Regions from separate parts of the Homo sapiens genome. Here regions 1, 2 and 4 are each linked to region 3. The links are contacts of gene promoters, found by promoter capture Hi-C in blood cells and fetal thymus (Javierre and others, 2016). All regions are on one chromosome and are shown on one strand. The core of a region is centred on a gene start or on the middle of the fragment in contact, and the rest is flanking DNA. Distances in the headings are between cores, read along the strand shown.

Region 1 (2,847 bases), core at 284-2,783, 540 kb after region 3:
CCAAGTGTGAAAATTTTGACCTTTAGTGTATTGTGCAGAAAAATTGTGGTATATTTCATTTAAAATTGATCAAAGACAGCAACATACATTAATCAGAGGAAAGCATCAATTAAATGTAGAAACAAGATTTAAACAAAGATTCATATTAAAATAATGATAAGTAATACTTAGAAACTGCATCCTAGAGACACATTATTCGTATTTTTAGAAAAACAGAAACATATTAGTGTGAAAAGATGTTAAAAAATGAATATTAAATTGTTGAGCACAACACATTATGTTGGCAACAATATACCATAAGTGACTGTAGCTTGCAATAAGGAAATATCTTACTTGTTTTTCTCTTTAGGCTTTTTTTATAGGCATTAATAACAAATATTTCCTTTCCTCCCTTATTTATTGAATCACACCCCTTCTCATACTATCTTTCCCCCCAAAGGAAGTGAATTAATTCACTACCTCTTGTTATTACAGTTTTTCATTTTAAAAACAAAAAACACTTAAGTTTTCCTTTTCTCTTATTTCAAAGTTATATATTTAGCCACCTGAGTTATGCTATGCGTCAAAATGTTTGTTGTTGTTGTTGTTGTTGGTTTGAGACAGAGTCTCTGTCACCCAGGCTGGAGTGCAGTGGCGCGGTCTTGGCTCACTGCAACCTCCGCCTCTCGGATTCAAACGATTCTCCTGCCTCAGCCTCCAGAGTAGCTGGGACTACAGGTGCGCGCCACCACGCCCGGCTAATTTTTGTATTTTTAGTAGAGACGGGATTTTGCCTTCTTGGCCAGGCTGCTCTCGAACTCCGGGCCTCAGGTGATCCACCCACCTTTGCCTCCCAAAGTGTTGGGATTATAGGCTTGAGCCACTGAGCCCAGCCCTCAAAATGTTTTTGAAGTAATTTTTGTTATAGTTACACAAATGCTTCTTTAGTTCAATGGTACAGGAAATTATGAGCTTGCTTCTATTTTGTATGGCATCAAAAATGTGTAAAGTACTGCAGAATGGGTTACGTATATTACATCTTCTCTTAAAATGATAATTTTTATGGTCCTTTACTTTTTTCCCCCTTCTTTTCCTTTATGAGCTGTGTCCCTAAAAATCACTTTAATTGCACATCTAAGCTTTCTTCTCACCCAAGAAAACCATTTTGAAGTACGTAGGTGATATTACTTTCTTGAGGCTTGATGGACCCTGCTGAGATCAAACCTGTTTACTTTTCTTAAAACTCCTTTTTGTTGGAGAGTCTTAAATATTAGTCTTTGTTAACCTTTCCACAGATTTGTTATTGGGCGGGAAAAACCAGGACAAGTGAGCGAGGTTGCCCAGTTGATAAGCCAGACACTGGAACAGGAGAGGCGCCAGAGAGAGCTGCTGGAACAGCACTATGCCCAGTATGATGCCGACGATGACGAGGTCAGTAGTGCTTGCAAAGATTCTTTTTCCCACATTTTCTAATTCATGAAACTCTCTCTACTGTATAACAGTATGACAGGTTTTATGCAGTTTCTTGAGGAAGGTGTGTCCACATTGAACTAAAATTCTACCTTAGAAAAGAAATACTACTCGCATCTGATATACGCTTAAGAATCAAGTCATGGTATCCTGTTTACAGTATGAAGACTGTGGACACAAATAAGTCTTATCTTTTGCACTATTATAAAGGAAGTCATAGAAACAGAAAAGGATAAAAACACAAAAATGTGAATAATGTCATCTTTATTGGTGGAATTGGGTGATTTTCTCTCTCTGCTTTATATTTTTTCAATCTTTTCCAAATGTTCTACAATAGTATGTAATGCTTTTCCAAAAAATCAGTAAACACACCCATACACAAACAAATATACATAGAAAAGTACTAAAGATTGCTGAGTGTTTCCAGTGTCTTTTTCCCCCAGGAAGAAAAAGTTCTTTGGATCTGCTTACTATGATTTGTGCTAACATAATGCAGAACAAAGCTTTCCACTAGCACATGTTCCATAGAGCAGATACATATTGGAATAATTTTACATCCTGCTTTCTGTAAAAGATCAAGTAAATGAATAGAAGCTAACCCCCAAGTGAAAACAGCTCTCCAGAACCCTTGTGTGCTGTAATATAATACAGATGCTGGTCTATTTCTAATGTCTTTGAAATGTACATTGATATAATGGGACAACATGCTTTATTATAAACACGTTTAAACATTCATGTGTTTCATATTGGTGTGTCAAAAGATCCATCAACAATTTAATTGTAGTATTTTATACTCCATAAACTAGTACATATTCAGGTAAAACAAATATTCTTCATTCCAGCTAATATAACCACAGTGAAACTTCATGTATTCAACCCCTTCTTATCTGAATATATAATTTTTCAGAATTTTGCTTTCTAGCCAGGATATAGATATTAATAAACAGACATTCAAATATTTTCACATATTTTTAATCTGAGATGTTTTAATCCCAATGTATATTAAGATCTCATGAATATGTGGTATAATGAGGATATATTCTCCACTTATAGCAGAAAATTAGAGGTGGTATATCCGTTAACTTTTGATCAAAGAATAATATATTAGAAATCCTTTAAATGAATGAATTAGACTCTTAGAACTTGATTTAATTTATTTTCTTACTTGGTGAGTCCATTTGAAATGGCAAGTATATTTTCATTACACTGAGATATTTTGTATGAAAAATGTTCTCTTGAATTTTCAAACTAAAAAAGGGATTTCCTCAAATATTTTGAACTTGTATCTTACCTGGTTTTCAATTCTTTACATTAGTATTTTGTATTTTATCAGAGACACTGATTTGCTTTTGCTGCAAGCTTATTCTGAGATTGTAGAATCATTTTCTGCAGGTTTGA
Region 2 (3,038 bases), core at 131-2,630, 590 kb after region 3:
CTGATGTCAGAGGGGATCTTGGATAGATTTTTCTTAATTCAACTTCATGACTCTTTTATATTCTATGAACTGTTGTTTTTAGTTGTGGTGTTCATTTTTGATTGTGAGTTTTTTTGTTTTTAATGTGATTACACTGGCAGTTTAATGGAAGGTACGGCGAGGCTGGCTCAGGAACTGTTAGCCAGGTACCATTTAAAGTGACTGTCCAATTTCTCCCTTGCCATTCCTCCTCAGGAGTCACAGCAATTGCAACAATTAAAAAAATTCGACATTTCTCTTGAAGAAAAAATGGAGTCTAAAAGTTGGTTTATTTTATTTATTTAATTCTATGAAAAAGAATCTAGAAAAGTTATAAAATGCATGGGATAATAACATTAAGTTATCTTTATGGAAGTTTCCACTACCATGTAGGGAAGCTATAAATTGCTGCCTACTTAATAGCAAACAGTTACTTATTTAAAAAAGAGCTGTAATTACAGGCCATCAACTACATCCAGCAGCAGCATCATTAATAACAAGTTTATGAGTACCTACTTAGGGAGTGACCTTGTTAGAGAATCTCACCCAATGCTACATATGCTGCCATTAGTGTTACCATTCAGATTAGATTGTGATATTGTTCAGTCAGCCAGTTTTAGTTCATTTTGCATACATGATTCCCTAAGTAAAACACTTTCGTTAATACTGGATAGATACCATATGTAAACTTTTCAGCAGAAATTACAAAGAAATATGGCAAAGCTTCATCTTAACACCAAAATGTAGTTAAAAACAGCTTTGATTTCTTTTGTGAAGCTATATTGTTGTAGGTAAGACATACATCACTCAAATACTCACAAAGATAACTAAAAATTTAGATCCCAATCTAGAAAGCACTTTATAAAGTTCTATGCAAATATTAGTTATTGATTTGCTTTTGTAAAGCAACAGCAGAAAATGTTGCCCTTATCTGATTGTAATATTTCTAGAACTAGAGCTCTCTTAAAACATTTCCTGCAAAGATATTTTTCACTTTTTAAAGAAAAATGTTTCCATGCTCTCACAGGATAAGTAGAGAGAGGGCAAAAGTTCAGTCTCACTATTTAAGTTTCTGTGTAAAGGATGTTTCTATTTCTAGCACAGTTATATTTGGATTATATCGATCCGGTAATATGAGTGCATGTTCTGTATTCATCTTTTTGAAAAAAAAATTATACACAGCAGGTACACCTTCAGAATGTTAAATGAAAGCTCCTGTTCTCATAGGAATGTGTATGTTTATTTGTGCTGAAATCCTGAGGTGCATATCTATGGCTTTCATATTAAAGATGACTGAAGAGATGAAAATGATGGTCTTGTAAGTTAAAAGACTTTTACCTGCAGTCCTTAACCTTTTCTTTTTATTTATGCCCTCCTAATCCCAACTCTTTTCTCCAAACCTAGCTTCTCTGAAGCCCAAAAACTCCAACAGGCATCTCAGGCTCTATTTCTATTAACCAGCCCTGTTAACCTTCTATCCCTGCAGTCAGCGTGCCTGACCATTCTTGCAAACTCTTGGACCTGTACTTTGAAAAGGTTATTGATTCTTGACATAAATCTCTTAAACATGTGGAAAGGGAACTGCTCTAGAATAAGAAAACTCAACCTTTTACCAACTATGCTTCATTTGTCGAGGTCCTTCACCCCTGTGAAAAGCAATTTTCTTTTCCTCATGAAATGGAGATAACTTGGGTCCATCTTGCTCACTTTGCTTGGAAAGTAGGGTCCACGTCTGGACAAACAGGCCAAAGACACATGACATCTGATCTGGCTATAGGAACAAAAGACTAAACAAGCCATCCAGCAGCAGGTTGCCTCTGACCTTTCTCACAGGGTGATCTGGAGAATTCTTACAAGGTGTTTTTATTAATCTCCCTGAAGTATCTTGAAAGTAGATTCTATGTCATGTTCATGTATCCTCAGTGATTAGCATAGTACCTAGCACGTAGTCTCAGTCACTAAAGGCCAATTGATTATTAAGGGAGGTGGAGGTCTGCTTTCTAAGCTTCATTAATAATAACAGCAGCTGATTGAGCACCATTTTGCATTCACTGTCAGAATGCTCAGAGACTACCAGAAGTGATCCATGGTTTCCAGTTGGAGTAATAACTTCTCATCTGAGAGGTTATGATGATGACATATGGCTTGGGGTTTGGGGGAAGATTAAATGAAAAATATATCCCAAAGCAACTGGTTCAGTTAGATACATGGTTAAGGGAGGAACAGAGGTAGGAAGAGTCAAATCTGGTTTTGTTTCCGCTCCATCACCTGTTTCTAGTGGGAACTTGAAAAGGTGTGTGACTTCCCTGAGCCTCTTTCCTCATCTGAACCATGAGGTTCACAACACCTGCCCTGCCTCCCCCAGTCATTTGCAATGATAAAGGGAGATGATTAAAAATAAAGGGGCCTACAAATGTAAGAAATTTAGTATTAGTGGAAAGAACCATGGGCTGGGATTTCTAAAACCTGGCTTTGGCACCTAATAGCCTTCCAAGGTAAGCTCACTAGACACAGGTCCATACTATATAAAACAAAAAGGGTTCAGTTAGTGTATTTTGATGCTTTTCTTGTCAAAAGTGATGGATTTGTAGAAATTCTCTTAATGTACATACAGAATTAAAATAATCGCATATTTTTAATTTTAGGCCTCATGTGTACTAAGAAAATCTTGTCCATTCTGAATAATGTGAATTTACACAATTCATTCTGCTTTCCTATATGTAAAGAATTTAGCTATACTTAGTAACACTCCAAACTTTGCGCAGTTGTTCTCACCTCACTGCTAATTAGTTCAGTTCCCTCCTGTTATCCATTTTTGGTGAGATGGAAAGGGTAGAATAGATCAACATGGGCTGTTTCACAGTTTTACCTGGGTTTGTCCCACAATTTGTGGATTAATCTAGTGTATTTATTCACAAGAAGGAAAATATTGGCTCAGGACAAGAATTTCTAAGCTCTGCAACCTTGACAACTACCTTCAGGTTCTTTGTTTCATAAATGTCACACCTGTTGTATGTGAA
Region 3 (3,159 bases), core at 199-2,698:
AGAAAGGCTCTCTTTTAAAGTGCGGTGTCTGCAACGTTGTTATGACAATAAGTCAAATTCTTATTGATATTCCAAGTATAAAATAATCCGTAGCAATGTTACTAAAATGTGCTCAATTTTGCTCTTCAAATATGAAAGCGTTTCATCTGTGTTTCAGAAACCTAACTCAGCTGTAGACAATTTGGTTTTCCCTTTTAACTTAAACTTGTTTTACTAAGATCATCAACAGATTGTCAGTTTCCCAAGCACCTGACACTGAGGCGCTTAGATGGGAATCCGCGTTAAGGTTTTATTTAGCATCCTTCCTCATCAGAATTTTAGCGTCTTATCAGCCACTGCAATTTTCCCTGACATAAAATATATATGTTCATAGTACAAATGCACGCAAATATTTGTGGCCGAATCTCGGCAACCCGCTGGAAAGGATTAAACGTGCGGTTGCCGTGACTAAACGCATTCATTCACCCTACAAGATTTAGGAAAATGTAACGTTGCAAGGGAAGCAAGGTCTCTGTGTAAACCTCGTAATCGCCACCAAAAGTCGGTAGCTGGGAGCCTTCAAAGCCCGCCAAACACACTGGAAGCATCCACAGCTGTTTTAAATTGGTTTTGGTTTCTGGAAATAGCGCACTCGGTACGGCAGCATCTCTGGCCTCCAGCCGGGGTTAACCCTGACCTGAACGCCCTGTTTAGCTCCCAGCATTTCATGATTCCGCTTCCCTGCTCCGTAAAACCGAAGAAAACCGAGATTTCCGTCACCGAGAAATGCACTTAGCAAGAGGGGGAAATTCGGTGTTTTAAATGTCACATTTTTGTGTTCTCTACCACTATCAAGAAAAGGAAAAAAGATGTGTTTGTGTAGCGGGGACGCAGCTTGACACCCATTTCCTTTGGCTCGCATCGCGGTCGCAGAGCCCAATCGCGGGGAAACGGGCCCCCCAGAAAAACAGGCAACGACCCCCAGCTCTTTGCTACAGGGATCGGGAGAGGACTACCCTGGGGCTGGGCGGGGAGGGGGATGTTGGGAACAGGAATTGGAGATGGAATTTCTGCGCCCGCAGAGCAGGGAGGGGCCCGCGGGGGCGCGGAGAGGAAAAAAAGGCCAGGGGTCAAGCCTGGGGAGAGAGAAGCTGGGCCGGGGAAATGGGGTACAGGGTGTACTGAAGGAGGGGTACGGTGGGGTCCGGGACAGAAAGAGAGGCTGGTGCCCAAAGGGCGCGCTCAGGCGCCCGGAACCCGAGCGGGGGAGGGGGAGGCGGCGGCCTGTTGGCCCCGGGACCTCCACGTCGCGCGCAGGCCACTAACCTGTCAGCAAGAATGTGCCAGTGGTCGCGGGGCTCATCCTGCGTGTCCCCCGACCCTGTCCCGTCCAAGCACAGGGGTCTCCCAGCTCCCACCACCGGGGCAATTGCATTCTTGGCCTGGCTAGGCCGTCCGTCCTCGATTCTCCCCTCCCCTCCCTTTCTTCTTCCCTCCCAGCTTGGCCAGTTCAGCATCAGCATCCCGCACCCCCTCGGTAATCCCGTACTCCCTCTAGCGGCGGGCCACTGCAGCGTGGCCACCGCCCCCACCCCCATCCCCCATCCCCGCACCCCCCTCCACCCCCTAGCCCGCGGAGCACGCTGGGATTTGGCGCCCCCCTCCTCGGTGCAACCTATATAAGGCTCACAGTCTGCGCTCCTGGTACACGCGCTTCAACTTCGGTTGGTGTGTGTCGAAGAAACCTGACTGCGCCCTGAGGAGAACAGCGGAGAAGGTCCACCGAGCCTGGCGAAAGGTCCGCTGAGCGGGCTGTCGTCCGGAGCCACTCCGGGCTGCGGAGCACCCAGTGGAGACCGCGCCTGGCTCAGGTGTGGGACCCCATCCTTCCTGTCTTCGCAGAGGAGTCCTCGCGTGGTGAGTATGCGGTGAGGACGTTTTTTTTTTAAAGATCACGTTCATTCCCCGTGCTTATCGGGAGCTGCGGGAGATGGAGTAGCACCCCAGAATGTCTCCACGCAAAACTTGTCACGCCTTCACTGGCTGTACCCCAAAACAAATGGGGAAACCAAGCCTTAAAGGCTTGGGTTTCCAGGACCAAGTCCAGATACGGGCTGTAGACAGAGATGAGCTGCGGACAGTGATGAGCTGCAGACGGTCAGGAGCTATAGATCGATTTGCAATTTGCTCTTCAAATGCGCTACCAAGTGCCATGCTTTACAAACAGATAAGCGCTTCAAATGCGCTACAAACTGGCGCTTCAGATGCGCTACAAGCACGCTTCACGCGGGCGACAAACTGATGGGAGCTACAACTGGCGCTTCATTGCGCTATAAACTGATGGGCGCTTTATGTGCCACAAACTGACGGATGGGCGCTTCAGTGGCGCTACAATCCAGAACGAGGAGCAGCGATATAGGAGCTGCAGACAGAAAACTGAATTGCGCTTTACATGCGCTGCAAAATCTGAGCTGCAGAAGAGTAGCACTACAAAAAACGCTACAAAAACGATGCGATTAGCCAGCCCGACAACAGCGCTTCATTGCGCTGCGAGGCACATGAACTGCAGAGGTACATGAGCTGCGGAACAATTCACACCTAAGATGCACTACAAAGTGGTAAGAGCTGCAGAGGTACAGGAGCTGCAGACCGTTTGCGCTACAAATAAAGCAGCCGTAGTGGGACATGAGCTGCGGAGTACAATTCCTCTGTTTTCTTGGAGCAGGACCCCACCCTTTCACCTTTTGGAATGGCTCCCACTCTATTTTTCTGCAGGACGGTTCTCGCATGATGGTGCTGGTAGACAAAATGGAGCCCCGGGCAAAAATTAGTGTTTAACATTCTGCCCACACCATTCCCGCTATAGCAGTGGAGTGGAGGGGCACTGATTGGAGTGGAAATGGGAATCTTTTGGTGATGGCAGAGCAGGCTGCCTGCCTACTTGTGCTTGATTGAAGTGGCGGTGTAGTTGTGGTGGCGCGAATCAGCGTCCAGCAACAGTTTGTGGAAACTGTGGGTTTGCTGAGTATGGCGGGGGAATTGGATCTGTGGATTGCTCTTGCTGCATGAAATGAATCTGGCTTTGGTGACTGGTGGGAGGGGTTTGGGAGGGGGGATTCTGGCGGCGGGGGGGGGGGGTGTGCAGATACTCTGCAGCCCTGTAGCAGCCAGTCTCAGGCC
Region 4 (2,834 bases), core at 268-2,767, 830 kb after region 3:
AGTAGTTAGATCATCTGGCGAGCATACTGCAAACATGCTGCTCAACATCACTAATGTTTAATACAATATAGATGCTAAGGTCTTGTGTATAGCATTTAGAGACAGTCATTATTTTAATGTTTAAAAATGATTTCTGGCCATCTATAAATCATCAGTATAATACATTTCCAGATACAAATGCTAATGGTACAGTATATATTTCTTCATTAATTTACTGTCCTCCGATTGTCAGTTCTGAGGGACATATAGAAGAGCTCAGGCTAGTTACTATGTTTATGATTTTTACTCAAGGGCTTTATAATATTTTGGCATTAATGGCATTAATATTTTGATGGGAAGACAAAGAAGGGATCTATTTTTTAAAAAGTTTATGGGGTCTGTTAGAAAATTTGTATACTATATAATCAGATTGCTTTCATCTTATAATTTTGTTCAGTGATAGAATGTCTGAATGCTAAACTAATTTTTAAGATGTTTTTAAAAAGCTTATATTTGTGCCTAGGGTGAAATAACTCAGGTTCAAGTCAGTGGGTAAGTTATTTGACCCTGAGTTGCAAAGACTGTCTTCTCTCATCTGAGCAGGCCAAGTTGCACAGATTGTGGGAAGTTTCTGAGGATATAAGAAACCAAGTTTTAGGTGCAGGCTCTAGGGAAGTGGAGGGGAGAGGTGGGGTTGGTTCTCCTACTTCCACCGGTGTCATCTTCCTTGAAGGAAAAGAAAATACATTTTAAATTCTTCTTGTCAATATGAGCTGACTCCTATGGTCCTCATAGAGCTAAATTTTCATTCCCACGAATTGAGGTGTTTTCATAGTGTTAGGACTGTGGGATGTGGCTTTCAATTAGGGAGATAGCAAATTACACCCTCTGGAAAAGGAAAAGAACAGTTCCATTCTTATGTATGCCAAGTGGATGCTTGCACAGAACTAGTAAAATTTGTGGTCTTACTTTTAGGGTTTATGCAGGAAATTTGTGTCTGCACTCATGTGTAGAAAGAAACACACTTGAAACACACTTCTCCACTACTCTGTTTAATACGCACATGGGCACAAGGACCTGTCTCTTTAGTCTTAAACCCAGGTTAAAACTTCATCTTTCTTAAAAGTTTCTTCAGGCCGGGAGTGGTGGCTCACGCCTGTAATCCCAGCACTTTGAGAGGCCGAGGTGGGCTGATCACGAGGTCAGGAGATAGAGACCATCCTGCCTAACACGGTGAAACCCCATTTCTACTAAAAATACAAAAAATTAGCCAGGCGCGGTGGCGGCCGCCTGTAGTCCCAGCTACTCCCGAGGCTGAGACAGGAGAATGGTGTGAACCCGGGAGGCGGAGCTTGCAGTGAGCCCAGATGGCGCCACTGCACTCCAGCCTGGGTGACACAGGGAGACTCCGTCTCAAAAAGAAAAAAAAAAAGAAGTTTCTTCCAATTTTTTTCACATGCTTCCAACCTTATCATCGATCCTTTTAAACTTAGGAATGGAAAGTTAGGAATGGAAATGACAAATAGAATCCTAGCTGCTAGTAGATCTAAGTGGTTATATCAATTTCTTAAGTCATAAAGTCATTGTCAGGCAACAGCGTGGAGCTGAGCAGTCTACAGTGGTTAGTTAGTTCTTTTCTAAATAGTTCAAAGGAATAGGACCCATTTCTGTGTGGCCTTAAAAGGTATGTGGCTGGATTAAAGTTTGTGAGACTTTATTAAATCAAAGGAGAAGTTTTGGACCTTGGACGCTGTTGAACTGCTACACACTGCTCTTTGATTTTTTTAAAGCACTTTTGAAAAGCTCTCCGCAAAAGTGCATAAATAAGTGTGCAGCTTGATTACTTTTCACAAAATAACAAACCTATGTAACCAGCATCCAGATGAGGAAACAGAGCATTCCTGTTTACTTTTAAAGTGTGGGAATCTTCAGGTTTCAGTTATTTTTGGCTTAATAAGAAAGACAATGCACAAAACCTATAACGAATCTCATGCTACTCTTAAATTTCCTTGTGTAATCAATACTAAAATTCTATATTCAACATTTGATAGTCCTATAGAAAGTGAAAAGTAGTACAATCAATTCTAAACCATTCTTATTTATTTAGAACATACAGCATTTTTATAGGATTTAAGAAGTAACTAAATTTTATCCCTAAATATAGTCCATCTAAGCCTATATGAAAGTCAGTGTATAATTTTTGAAAAGGGAACTCAGAACTCTGCTGGCAAATAAATCACCTAAAATCTAAATAGTGCTTCCCAAATTTACAATCTACTGGGCACACCAGTAATCAAAAGTTTAGCTCATAAGCAAATATGAAATGTGTATTTTGTGAGGAAGACAGAATAAAGCTATTGGATTACAAATAAGTCTGGAAGCTCATTTCTGCTTTCCTCTGTAGCACTGGGCCCATCTCATTGAATAGCTTCTCTTACCAATTTGGCAGAGAACAGATTTAGAAGCCAGCCTCCAGAGTTCATGTTCAAACTGTGGATCCTGTCTTTCTCCAGCACCTAATCATGATTCTTAAAGTTAGAGAGCTCTCACTTTACTTTTCTAAGTTATTTTAAGCTTCATAATAAAATCTGCAGATGAAATCATGTTTTATTAATTTAAAGAAACTTTTCTCACATTTTGTAAAGCAAACATTTAAAATGTGCTGGTTGGCATTTGAGAGACCTCCCTGGGAATGGCGGAGATAATGGGTCTTAAAAGCAAAAACAAGTAAGCCAAAATTGCGTTTACCAGATGATCACTTTAAAATAAAAACGATATAAAGAAAACATAAAGAATGACTTTCTAACTGCCAAATGCAATAAGTCATTGAAAGTCAAGGGATGTCAGTGATATAA

What was found. The method cuts DNA at HindIII sites, captures the fragments that hold promoters and counts their contacts. A CHiCAGO score of 5 or more calls a contact.
Region 1: a fragment that was not itself captured here is called in contact with the fragment with the promoter of SGCE in region 3 in 2 of 17 cell types (M2 macrophages and M0 macrophages); the score reaches 6.2 in M2 macrophages.
Region 2: a contact is called between a fragment that was not itself captured here and the fragment with the promoter of SGCE in region 3, in 2 of 17 cell types (M2 macrophages and M0 macrophages). The highest score is 6.4, in M2 macrophages.
Region 4: a contact is called between a fragment that was not itself captured here and the fragment with the promoter of SGCE in region 3, in 1 of 17 cell types (fetal thymus). The highest score is 6.3, in fetal thymus.

The regions. Positions count from the first base shown.
Region 1 is chr7:95,197,075-95,199,921 of GRCh38, forward strand. PPP1R9A (protein phosphatase 1 regulatory subunit 9A) reads left to right here. Exons shown (of 20, transcript NM_001166160.2): 6 at 1,275-1,410. All of the region lies in intron 1 of PPP1R9A-AS1 (PPP1R9A antisense RNA 1), which reads right to left. Among named protein-coding and RNA genes, the nearest start is that of PPP1R9A-AS1, 16 kb to the right of the region's middle. The HindIII fragment of the contact is 834 bases long and covers 1,117-1,950 here.
Region 2 is chr7:95,241,415-95,244,452 of GRCh38, forward strand. The region is part of intron 8 of PPP1R9A (protein phosphatase 1 regulatory subunit 9A); the gene reads left to right. Among named protein-coding and RNA genes, the nearest start is that of PPP1R9A-AS1, 29 kb to the left of the region's middle. The HindIII fragment of the contact is 1,282 bases long and covers 740-2,021 here.
Region 3 is chr7:94,654,685-94,657,843 of GRCh38, forward strand. SGCE (sarcoglycan epsilon) reads right to left here and starts at 1,449. Exons shown (of 11, transcript NM_003919.3): 1 at 1,306-1,449. The coding sequence starts at 1,414. It overlaps PEG10 (paternally expressed 10), which reads left to right and starts at 1,641. Exons shown (of 2, transcript NM_001172437.2): 1 at 1,641-1,907. The coding sequence starts at 1,903. RefSeq lists enhancers at 797-1,574, 2,844-2,893. The HindIII fragment of the contact is 19,954 bases long and covers 1-3,159 here.
Region 4 is chr7:95,486,947-95,489,780 of GRCh38, forward strand. The region is part of intron 1 of ASB4 (ankyrin repeat and SOCS box containing 4); the gene reads left to right. Among named protein-coding and RNA genes, the nearest start is that of ASB4, 2.4 kb to the left of the region's middle. The HindIII fragment of the contact is 2,068 bases long and covers 484-2,551 here.